2 separate regions of the Homo sapiens genome follow, and region 1 is linked to region 2. Evidence: promoter capture Hi-C in 16 types of primary human blood cells and fetal thymus (Javierre and others, 2016). All regions are on one chromosome and are shown on one strand. Each heading gives the region's core, a stretch centred on a gene start or on the middle of the fragment in contact. The rest is flanking DNA. Distances are from core to core; before and after follow the strand shown.

The links. The method cuts DNA at HindIII sites, captures the fragments that hold promoters and counts their contacts. A CHiCAGO score of 5 or more calls a contact.
Region 1: a fragment that was not itself captured here is called in contact with the fragment with the promoter of F2RL1 in region 2 in 1 of 17 cell types (endothelial precursors); the score reaches 5.2 in endothelial precursors.

What each region holds. Positions count from the first base shown.
Region 1 is chr5:76,597,586-76,603,962 of GRCh38, forward strand. IQGAP2 (IQ motif containing GTPase activating protein 2) reads left to right here. Exons shown (of 36, transcript NM_006633.5): 10 at 1-17; 11 at 3,227-3,387. Among named protein-coding and RNA genes, the nearest start is that of F2RL2, 23 kb to the right of the region's middle. The HindIII fragment of the contact is 294 bases long and covers 4,431-4,724 here.
Region 2 is chr5:76,816,920-76,823,190 of GRCh38, forward strand. F2RL1 (F2R like trypsin receptor 1) reads left to right here and starts at 2,111. Exons shown (of 2, transcript NM_005242.6): 1 at 2,111-2,345. The coding sequence starts at 2,264. RefSeq lists enhancers at 1,827-2,444, 2,445-3,062 and a silencer at 1,845-2,139. The HindIII fragment of the contact is 1,972 bases long and covers 1,582-3,553 here.

The DNA of each region.
Region 1 (6,377 bases), core at 3,328-5,827, 220 kb before region 2:
AGAAACAGAACACCATGGTAAGTCAGAGGAGACCCCAGCTGTGGGGACGGTAACCCTGCGTGCCATGGCGCACTAGGGAAGCCTAGTTAGGAAAGGGGAATAGGGATCGGGGATCTCTAATTTGTACCAGTCCTGGTCTCACTGGCCCACCTGTACCAATTCCAAGGCCTTCTTCCTTGTTAATTCTTGCTTTTAGTCTACATAAAGAATCTAAGAGCATAGTTAGGAAATTCCAGCAGTGGTCTATACATATACCTGTGAAAATAGGTTGTTCTTATTTTCTGTGTGATATTTGAAGACACCTTGGATAAATTTTAGCTATACCGATGTGGTATTTTTTTTACAATATATAATGTTTTTATGTAGAAAATAAGCTCAATCTGCAATTTTAGAAACTGCAAATAAGACCATTAGCACCATGGCTTTGATTTTTGTGAACTTGTGCACCTTAATATGACAACAGCATTCAACAATAATTTCATACAAGGTTACAGTAATTAAGAACATGTTTACTAACACTCTTGTAAGCCAAACAATGAAACAAAATGAAAACTACTGAAAGCAGAACCAAGAATTCAGCATATAACAAGGCTCGTATTTCAAGAAGGTGGGGAAACAACTATTTAATAAATGATATCCTTGCAAGTGTTTAAGCTTTGTTAAGAAAACATTAACTCACTACACATATATCAAAATAAATTTTCAACATAAAATGTTAAATATAAAAAATAATTTAACAAATTAAAGTTCTAAGGAAAAACACAGGACAGTCATTGGATCTTTAAAGTCACAATCAGCACTTATCCACACACAATAAAGAGAGGCCAAAAACATGAGCAGGCAATTCATAAAACAAGAACTATACAAATGACAAACAAAAAAAAAGTTTAAACTCAATCAGAAGTAAAAAATATATAAATTAAAACACAGTACACTTATGATTTAAAATTAGATTGGTAAAGATTAGAAAGATTTAACCCAGCGTAGGGATAGATATGGGGCCCAAACATCTCCTACACAGCTGCTGGGAGTATGAATTATACAGATTTTCTGCAGGGTGGTCTTAGTAATACAGATCAAAAGCCCATGATGCTGACAGTTACGTTCTAGAAAATAAGCCTGAAGGATATGAACCAAATAGCTTTGGCCACAGAGATGTTTCACAGCATTGTTTAGAATACTGAAAACCAGGAAACAAATGTTTAATTAATAACAGATTGCCTATAAATTAATAACATTTATGGTGCTTGTACATGTGAGAAATATGTGCAACCAGTAAAAATGATAATGTAAAGAATGACTGGAAAAGATATCCATACTAATATTAAGTGGGAAAAATAAGATTAAGATATATAGCATTATCTTGTTTTTTGCAAAAAGAAAGTGAAGTCAGTTATAAAGACAAAACCTCTGCAAATGTATATATGAATTTAAAATACATAAAAGGATATACACAAAAGAGCTTGAGTGGTAGCATTTGTTTTCTTATTCTTGCTTACTAAGACTTCTGTATTGGCTGAGTGTGGTAGTTCCTGTCTGTAATCTTAGCACTTTGGGAGGCTGAGACAGGAGGATCACTTGAGGCCAGGAGTTCAAGACCAACCTGGGCAACATAGGCCTCATCTTTACAAAAATAATAATAATAATTAAAAAGACTCCCTATGTTTCCTAAATAGAAATATAGTATTTGTAATAAAAGAAAAATAGCTTATTTTCTTAATTTCATTCAGGTTCTCTCATTAATATTTTCTTCCACTTCTCTGGCTCTGAAGCTCAAGGCTACTTATGCTTGAGGACACTCATTCATCCTCAACTGGCCATAGTTAACCTGTGGCTGTCCAACCTCATTTCTTCTTCCTCTCTCCTTATCCTTTTTGCTGTAAACCAATTTAGGTATCCACGGACAGGTCACTGAAAGAGATAGAGGAGGTGAATTATAAACGATTCCATTCTGCTCTTATAATTTGATACTTTGTATGTTAAACTTGTATTTAATGTAATATATTTAAATAAAATTTACTTACATGCTCTCGATGGTAACCCCTTCTTCCCATTTGCTTTGAAAGATTAAACTATCCCTTTTTATTCTGAAATCAGTTTGCTGCGAGACTTCTGTGGAGATCCAGAAAGATATAATAATGCATTTTAAGATGAACATTATGTTATATATTAAATACCTGTAATATCCTAAATGTAAAATATGTATCAGCTTTTCCTTAGTGGTTCTTTTTCATGCTCCTGCTCCTTATGTCCCTTCAATATGATGAAAAAAATATTCCTTTTGAAGTTGGGCCAAGATAATATAAAATGGTTAAATGGAAGAAGATATTAAAGGGGAAGGGTGTTCTGAAATCTAAGACGTATTTTTTTGGATAAGCTAAATCCAGATTTTAAATCATATAAACCTGGAGATCTGGCCAGGTGTGGTGATTCATGCCTGTAATCCCAGCACTTTGGGAGGCTGAGGCAGAAGAATCGCTTGAACCTGGGAGGCGGAGGCTGCAGTGAGCCTAGATCGTGCCATTGCACCCCAGCCTGGGCAACAAGAGCCAAACTCCATCTCAAAAAATAATAATAATAAAAATAAAGCAAACCAAACCAAACAAAAAAACCTGGAGAGCTTTACTTGCTTTACCAAAAGATCACCTCAGATTTCTTCAAATATCTTGACCTGGTAGTGTATTTTAAAATTTCTATTTTAAAATTTATGAAAATGTCACTTTAACTTTTTTTGAATTAAATCAGTAGTCTTGGTTTGAAGACCTTGCTTTGTGCTTCAGATTATAACTTTTCAGTGAAATTCTCCCAACCTTCCCTTAACCCTTAATTCAAACTGGAAATCGTTAGCTGTGCTAAAATGTTACCTGGCACTCTCAGTCAGTGACAATGTTATCTAGTCCTTGGCTTAATTATATGGCTGGACTGAGCCTTTAAGCAACCAGTATAGCTAGGAGTAGGGATCAGCAATGGGAATGCAGATATTTGTGGAATCGTAACTTTTCATTGTAATCAACCCAGTCCCAAAAAATGATCATCTAATGAAAGCCCAGGAGCCATATACCTGTTCTTAAAGCCAGTGGAAAGCAGGTGGCCACGACTCCTCTTTCTGCTGAGCTATCAAGTTCTTTGACTTTTTGTTGTTTGTTGAAATGTGCATTGTAAACCTCCATCATGCACATGAGGTGTGTTGTGTGGGGAGCTTATGTTGCCATATGTTTTCCAACAGAACTACTTGGCCCACGAGGAGCTTTTGATTGCTGTGGAAATGTTGTCTGCTGTTGCTTTACTAAACCAGGCCTTGGAAAGCAACGATCTTGTGTCTGTGCAGAATCAACTCAGAAGCCCCGCAATAGGCTTAAACAATCTGGACAAGGCATATGTGGAACGGTAAGGAACATTTTCCAAACCTTCTTTCAATGCAGAAATGCATGTTTGGCAGATCTTAAAAGTGAGGAATTTGCCTGTTGGTGGAGAAATCCATATACCATGCTCATGTTTCTTGAAAACTAGTCTGTTTTAAGAGTCCTTCTAATTAGTATCCTTGTTTACAGTATTCCTTCTGGGGAACAAGAAGAATCAGAAAGTGATCATCCTGTGGCAATTAATAAATGACTTTGTCGTTGGCAAAGATTATTTGATAGGCTGAAAATAAAGGAACTATTGGAAACATACCTTTCCTTGGGCGTCTTTTGGAAACCGCAGAATGTAGAAGAGTTGGAAGCAACTTTAATAATCATCCAGTCCAATTCTTTTATGTCACTGATGCAGAAACAGAATCCGGGTTATGGACCTAAAATTGGGCAGTTGGGCCCCAAACTCCACTCTTCTGATTATTAAGCCAAAGAAATCCTGAGACCACAGTGGGTCATGGCAGTGGGTAACAACATCCATTTATCTTTCATTTCATGTTTCTGAAGTGTGCTACCAGATAGTACAACTGATAGCATTGTTATAAAACACTATAGCGGATCTTGAGAGAAAATCAAATGGCCAGAATTGGGAGCCAGATGAGAGAGTCGCTGAGATAAAAGCCCCAGTTAAAATGAGTGAATCTTGGATTCTTGTAACCACCAGGGGGAGATGTCTGCACAGATCTTGACAAAAGCTCTTTTCAGCTACTGATTTTGGAACGGCTCTAATAGGCAGGTTGGCTAATTCTCTTGGGTCATGTACAGTTGCCAAGGAAAAACCAGAGATTTCTTAGGTTAAACAAATGGTATTTGACCACTTGTCTATGTAGTGAATGGCCAAAAGGTAATGGAAGGATGGTGGGTTTTCCTTGTTTTTAGTCTTTTTGGAGAAACTAATTCTCTTGTTCTACTTAAATTTGGCCATCTGGTTCATATGACTCCTTAGAGTGTGTTTCCAAGGTAATTTATATCTACCACCACTGTTTCTGTTACTTGTTAATGGCACCATTCTCTCCTGTAAGCTTAGAAACCTGAAGCCCAATTTGAGTTTCCCTCTGCCCTCAGCCGGGCACCCTCGTGCTCTAAAGAGCCTGCTGTCAGTAGCCAGTCTATGTGCCTTATACCTCTGCAAGATGTTTCCATTTCCCTGCAACCACCCTCACTTAGACTTCTCACTTTTGCTTCTGTAGTAACCCCTAAATTGGTCATCCTACTTCTTTTCTCTCCCCATTCATTAATCATTCCTACCTAACCAGGCTTTGCCATACTTTCTCAGTGCTAGAGTAGAAGACAGACCCGGTCAATCCCTTATGAAGCTTACAGGCTAATGGGGCATCTTGGTGAGATAACTGTCAAGACTATTCCACATATTTAGCATCCCTGGCAACTGTCCTCCACATGACATTAGCCCCTGACTCACCCATTCTGATTATCAAAAATGCCTGCTTCTTCATTTACAAATACCCTTAAAGAAGTGGTCCCATTCTATTTGAAAACCATATTCATACCTGTAGTTTCCAGCTGGGACCTACAGATGGAGCCTCACAGTTCGAGTGTTCTGTGTGAAGAACTTTTAAAATGTTTTGATTTTTTTTTTTTAATTTAAATACATTCTGGATCTGGAAGACCCAGTACTGACATGGGATTTAAGGGCCCACTTGGGTTCTTGTATTGACACTTGTATTGGCCCCAAATGATCTTCTACAGCCTTGGCATTTTACTTCCAAAGTCAGCATCTTAACTTGGGATCTTGGAATCCCAGTTTTGCAGATTATCAAGTTTGAGAAACACGGCTCTGTCCAGGGCCTCTCCCCATAGAGTGCAGGTTCTTCATAGCACAAGTGTGCTGTGCATGGCCACCTTGACAAATTCATGCAAAGTCTCTCCCTGTTCACCGTGGCTTCTACTCTTGGGGCTGTGTTTGCCCAGAGAGATTCTTTTGTCTAATTCTCACAAAAGTATTGTATGGGTTAACATTAGCCTTGGGCATACACTGTTCCCAGATTAACTGTTCTAAAATGTAACCCTATTCATAATTCTGTTTGATTGTTCCTTGTTCACATCCGAATTAAGAACAGACTTCTCATTCTAAGCATGTTGCTCTGACCTTACCTCCAGCTCCATCCCTACTCGTATTTTGTGCTTTAGCCAAGTCCAAGTGTACTTTCTGGTCTCTGTGTTCCTATGCGTGGTCCTCTCACCATCAGGAACTTGGTGCCTTTACCCAGCTCAGCTAAACACAGTATTGGAGCTTCTGAGCCCTGCCTACCATACATTATGTTCTGTGAGGTATATCCGTGCTTCTCCCCACCCTAGCATCTGATGTTATCTCTCCTGGGAGGTAGCATGATGTGGTTAAAGGAGCATATGCCTTGGAACCAAAAATATCTGAGATTGACCCTCCCTAACTAAGCCTTTTTCCTTCATCTATAAAGCACAAAAACAAAAGAAACAAAAGCCCCACTCTGCATTTGCAGAACTGTTTTGAGGATTTAGTGTTTGGTTCAGTGCCTGTCCCAGGGAGGGTGCTCCACCAATAAGGGTTTCCTTCCACTTCTTGCTTTGAACCCCATTATATCTACTCTTATGGACTCTTTAATGGTCCTTCCTGTGCTCTGCTTTTATACCTTTTTGGAATTTTTGTCGTCTTACCCACTGGTCTGAAAGCATAAAGGCTGCACCTTTTTCCTCCTAATATTCCTGTAGTGCCTGCCATGTTTTACATGTAGTAAGTGCTCACAAACATCTGCTGAACTAAATTGGATTACTGATCTTCTCAGAGCTTCCCAGGGCTCTTAGATTAGTAGACTCCTTACTAGTCTGTCCATAGATGAGGTGAAGAGAACTGAGAGGAGTGAGAGGAGAGGACATTGACCTGTTTGGGGAAACTACGGAATATTTCCCAAAGTTGGTAACTTCAGTACTGGAGAGAAATACTCAATTGGAAAAGCCTGTGGAGTTCTCTTG
Region 2 (6,271 bases), core at 861-3,360:
CATTTCTTAGGTGCTTACTATATACCAGAAACGGTACTAAGAAGTGCTTTATGGACATTTAGCAAAGTGAATCCTCACAACCACCCTACGAGAGAGGTACTAGTATCATTCCCAGATGATAGATGTAATATTAATAAGCTACAGATGAGGAAATGGATGCTTGAAAAGTTTGAAGGGACATCTTAGGAATCAGTTATCTCCCCTGGGGAGGGACCTTCAGGAATGGCCTGATCCCTATCAGGAGAGCTGTCCGCTGTTCAGGATGTCAAAGGTTCCTGTTCTGCTTCTAGAAGTCAGCTTTTCCTGGGAGGAAAAGTGGGCATGGGCTGAGGTGAGAGCTGGGGTGCAGGTGGAGTATGAAGACTCCTCAGAGAAAGGAAATAAACAAAAAATATTTATTGAGCTTCTACCATGTATCAAACCCAGTCACTAGTCACTATTTTATCCTCAGACAGACACCTATAAACCTTTAAACCACGTGTGTGTGTATATATATATATATTATAAGAAAGCTTAGAGAGGATAAGTAAACTTGGGATCACACAGATGTCAACAAGGGGAGAAGCCTGTCCGGGTGTGGTGGCTCATTCCTGTAATCCCAGCACTTTGGGAGGCTGAGTGGGGAGGATCACATGAAGCCAGGAGTTCCAGACCAGACTGGACAAGATAGGGAGACCCCACTTCTATTTTCTAATAGAAATTAAAATAAAAAATAAAGAAAATTTCTTTATACATTGAGCTGAAATTAAACCCCACTGTGGCTTCCACCAATTTTTGCTCTCTGGAGCAACTCAAAACACATCTAAATCCTCTTCTACAAGCGAATCCTTTAAATATTTGAAAATACCTATGTCTCTCTTCTGTGCTCTTCTGGTACCAATAGTTTAAATGGGTAACAGTAGACTTTGTTTTATTCAATCTTTTAAAAAGCAAATAAAAAGTAAGACATGCTGGGTGCGGTGGCTCACGCCTGTAATCGCAGCACTTTGGGAGGCGGAGGTGGGCTGATCACGAGGTCAGGAGTTCGAGACTAGCCAGACCAACATGGTGAAACCCCGCCTCTACTAAAAATACAAAAATTAGCCAGATGTGGTGCACGCCTGTAACTCCAGCTACTCGGGAGGCTGCGGCCAGAGAATTGCTTGAACCCAGGAGACAAAGTTTGCAGTGAGCCGAGATCACGCCACTGCACTCCAGCCTGGGAGACAGAGCGAGACTCCGTCTCAAAAACAAAAAGTAAGACATTACCAATATGATGCCAACCCTCATGCACTCATCCCCAACCCCACACTTCTCTTCTCCCACCCCTTCTATCTGCTTTTGTATTTATTTAGCCTATGGGATCCCAATGCAGAGGAGCCCTGGTGGACGCATTTATAGTGCAGCGATGAATAGAAGACAGTGATAGTCTTATACTGGAGTTGAAATGTGATAAACATTTATACACTGTGTTTATAAGTCGTGTAACTCTGGCCAATTTATCTGGTCTTTCTAAGCTCACTTTCCTCGTCTGTAAAATGGGAAGAATAATCATACTTATTGCGCTGGTTGTTATGGGGATTAAGCAAGATAATTCTCTAAAGCTTTGGCACTTGGCGCTGAAAGTAGCCATTCCATGTCTTCTTTCCCGCCCCGCCTCTTGTGCTCCCCACCGCTTTCGTGATGTCCGCAGTTGCCCACCTGCCTCTACAATAAAAAACGCATCCCTCCTCCTGCAGGGTCCACCGCACCGGGAAGCCCTGTCTGTATCAGTTACCAACCACAATTGCAGTGAGTACGAATCGTGGCTTTCCCACAGTCAGGAAAGGCAAGGGAGACCGACGACCCGCTTCTCTAGGAGTAAGTAAAGATTAAAGGTAGTTCGCGGTATAGCCTAGGCAGGGATTAACCCGTGGTCCCAGCGCTCCTGCTATTTGCATTCCAAAGCAGACACCTCATGCGCTCAACCCCGCCCGCAGGCGGCTCCCGCAGTCTAAGGGACCTGGCGCGAGTCCGGGAAGCGGAGGGCGCAGCTGCGCAGGGAAGGGGGCCGGGGGCGGGACCAGGGCGCGCGTTCCGGTCCCGGGGCGTGGCCTCCCGCAGGTGAGTACGCTGCTCCTTCGGTTTCCCTGAAACCTAACCCGCCCTGGGGAGGCGCGCAGCAGAGGCTCCGATTCGGGGCAGGTGAGAGGCTGACTTTCTCTCGGTGCGTCCAGTGGAGCTCTGAGTTTCGAATCGGCGGCGGCGGATTCCCCGCGCGCCCGGCGTCGGGGCTTCCAGGAGGATGCGGAGCCCCAGCGCGGCGTGGCTGCTGGGGGCCGCCATCCTGCTAGCAGCCTCTCTCTCCTGCAGTGGCACCATCCAAGGTGAGAAACCTGGCCAAGGAGGGCTCTTATCTCTGAGGAGCTGGGGTCCTGGGCACGCTGGGCAGACGGTGGGATCCGGGCAGGTGTGCGAAGGCTGTTCTGCTGCCGGCACCCATCTCTACGAATCCCTTAGCCTCCCCTTGGTGGCTTTGATGTGAGGTCTCTGCGCCAAGGAGGCACCCAGGTGGGACATGCGGGAGCAGCTGAAGTCAGCGGAGCCGGGCAGAGGCAGAGATTTCCCCAAAGACCCCACTTCCCGTAGAGGCTGTCATGCTGGGCACCTCCAGGCCCCAGCGTGGGTTCGGGGAAAGGGAGGGAAGGAAGGAGTAGCTGTGTCTAAAGGGTACGCAGAGGACCTAGTCCCCTCCCCGGGCTTGGTTGCTTTGTAAACACTAAGTCATTAAGAGCTTTTTGCCAACTCCGGAGACTTCCTCCGCTGGCCCCGCGGGGCCGGTGGGGTTAGCGAGCTGATTGCGCAGGGCAGGGCGGAGTGGGTGGGAACCCGCGGCCCGGGAGCCTTCTAGGTTGTTTTTTGCGTCCCTCTCCAACTGCTGGAAGCCTTTCTTCGGGTTCTGGCCCCTGCGTTCGAGACCCACCCGGGTCCCGCTGCTCCTGGCACCCACAGTGGAAGGCCCGGGGTATGAAAGTCAGGGCCGGTCCCTGATGGGTTCTGGTGGTAATGAGCGCTCAGGCCCGTTGGGCGCCACGAGGATTTACGAGCGGAACTTTTTGGACCCTGCCTTATATTTGACCAGTTGACCCTCTGGGCCTGGGGTTCCGGGACTTTCCTAGTGTGCCACCCGGAGCGGCCACTGGCTGCCACCCAGGTCTGCAGGCCAGAGGCTGGCTGGCCTGGGAACAGAGCAGCACTTGCGCCCGGCCGTCGCGTTCCTTGGATGTGCTGCTCCGGGTGTGCTCGAACTTGTATTGCTGGGAGTGTGTTCTTCCGGGCCCAGCAGGCCTCGCTGTGGCCGTGGGGGATGTTTGACCTGCGATCGCGCCACTGTGATCCTAACCGAGGCCCCTCTGTTTGGGGCAGCCTGGGTAGCAAAGGGAGCTTTTAATTTCCCTCAGAAATGCGCATTTCTCACTTTTATCCTCCTCTTCATAAAGACGAAGTAAAAGAGCAAGTCACAGTGGGTTGGAATTAGATGGAAGAATGTGATTCTTTTCCCTCTGCAGTTAGGGAAAAGGGTGTTAATGGTGTAAGCTTGAAAACTGTGCACCGCTGGTATATTTTTTTTTCTTAATCAGCATCAGAATAAAGGCATTTAGTTCCAGGAAGTATTGAAAACTGTAATGGACACCTCTCCTCTATGTCCTTTAAAGTTGGAAACTTAAAATTCAGGAGCAAAGGTTAGTATGTGCAAACTTTAAAAAAATACATGTTGGTATAGCTGATTCAACATCTTTATGATTCAGAGATCCCTGTAGGAAGCATGCCCCGATTATTTGTCTTGTTCTTGTTTACTACTCTTGGGGGATTGGGAGATCCCTGGATTATAAGGCGAACTTGATTTAACAATAAGGAAAAATCAGGTTACTTGTTAACTATAGCCACTTAATATTGCACCTTGTTCCTCATCCTCCCCCCACCATACTTTTATTCCCTTGCAAAGTAACTTTCCCAAAGGGTTAGTGAAGTAACACTGACAATTGATTTAGGCAGATGGAGCTTTCCTCCCACCTTAAAACTAAATTGATTTTAATAAGAAATACAGTGTTAGCAAAGCTTTTCTGCCCTCAGGGTGGGTCTTTGCTCACTCGCTTTTTAGCCGGTCCTTCTGCGTGCCCCTCAGGTGGCTGCAGGGCCGATTTGGGGTTTGATTTTCTTCCCAAAGCCTCACTCCAAAAGACTGCCTCATAGAAACGAACTCAGCCGAGATCACAACCTTCTCAGGGTACAGGTGAAGGACACTGAATTGAGGAGGCAAGGCAAGGAAAACACTTGGAAATCAGGGCTTCTCTTTCCCTTTACAATAGTAATTGATAATTATTTGGGTAAACATGCTTAATATGTGTCCTCACTGCATCGTTAACTCCTGGAGGCAGGGGGCCCTACCATCCTTTCCATCACGTCTAGCATAGTCTCATCACCTACGGGACCTCAGTAAATAGCAAATGAATGAAGTGAGGAGTCTTGCCCAGAGTACCCTGGCTGGTCCATGTGGTGTTCATTTCAGTCAGCTTCTCTCTGCCACTTACTTATTTTTTTCCACCATGTTACAGGCCTAGGTCATTCCATTTATCTTTTGGAGACTGGAACTTCTGTTTTCTTTATAATTGGTTTGGTGGTTTTTTTTTGTTTTTTTGGTTTTTTGGGTTTTTTTTTTTTTTGACTCTCATTCGGTTGCCCAGGCTTGAGTGCAGTGGTGCAATTTTGGCTCATTGCAACCTCCACCTCTCCCGGGCTCAAGGAAGTCTCCTGCTGCAGCCTCCCGAGTAGCTGGGACGACAGGCACGCACCACCACCCCCAGCTAATTTTTGTATTTTTAGTAGAGACAGGGTTTCACCATATTGGTCAGGCTGATCTCAAACTCCTGACCTCAGGTGATCCACCCACCTTCAGCCTCCCAAAGTGCTGGGATTACAGGCATGAGCTACTGCGCCCTACCTATAATTGTTTTTTAAATTATAAAAACAATATGTGATCACTCGAGGGAAAAATGAGCCAAAACAAAAAAAGGAAACATTTAATTAAATCACCCTGAACTTCAGTACCAAAGTAGCCACCGCTAATATTTCGGCTTATATATTTTCCCACTCTTTATTACATCCATGCACAAAATATGTATTCACAAATACAGAAAATATGTTTGTGCAAGTATGGGATTATATAAGCACATCAGTATCATGTCAATACATATAAAACATTTTTAATGACTCCAAAATGTTACAGAAGGATGCATCAATTTTAAAATTAGTCCTTTGTTGATAGACATGTGGTATTTCCATTTTTTTTTTCCCCCTGAGATAGAATCTCACTCTGTTGCCCAGGCTGTAGTGCAGTGGCACGATCTCGGCTCACTGCAACCTCTGCCTCCCAGGTTTAAGTGATTCTCATGCCTCAGCCTCTGGAGTAGCTGGGACTACAGGCGCACACCACCACATCCAACTAATTTTTGTGTTTTTGGTATAAACGGGGTTTCGCCACGTTGGCCAGGCTGATCTTGAACTCCTGACCTCAAGTGATCCACCTGCCTCAGCCTCCCAAAGTGCTGGGATTATAGGCATGAGCCACCGTGCCTGGCCAAAGTTTTGTAATATGACAGAACACTGCAATGAACTGGAAGATAGGACTTTAAATTTGATCCTTTTGCTTGCTTTGTAGTTACTAAATAACCTTGATAGATGATGTTTTAGTAAATCTGTATTTGACTTTCTTATGGTTTTATTAGCTTGGCAAGTGTTGAAGAAAACAGTTCATTCTGAAAGAACACTTCTGAAAATGTACTAAAAGTTTAGCTAGGGAGGGGCACCCCACAATTGAAACCTTTATTTTTCAGTCTGTGCTCCCAAAGATTGGGAGCAAAAAAGGACATTTGGGGTGAGGGGATCATAGAGAAGAGAGGGTGAAAGGAAGAGAACTAATGCAAGTAAAGTGCTTGTTTTACACTTGGTTTGATGGGGAGGTTGGGCCACAAGAGGAGTATACTTAAAATAAAAATTAAATTAAAAGTTTTAGGCCAAGCGTGGTGGCTCACGCCTGTAATCCCAGCACTTTGGAAGTCAAGGCGGGTGGATCACAAGGTCAGGAGATCAAGACCATCCTGGCTAACATGGTGAAACCCTGTCTCTACTAAAAATACAAAAAATTAGCCGGGCATGGTGGCGGGCGCCTGTAGTCCCAGCTGCTTGGGAGGCTGAGGCAGGAGAATGGCGTGAACCCGGGAGGTCGAGCTTGCAGTGAGCCGAGATCGTGCCT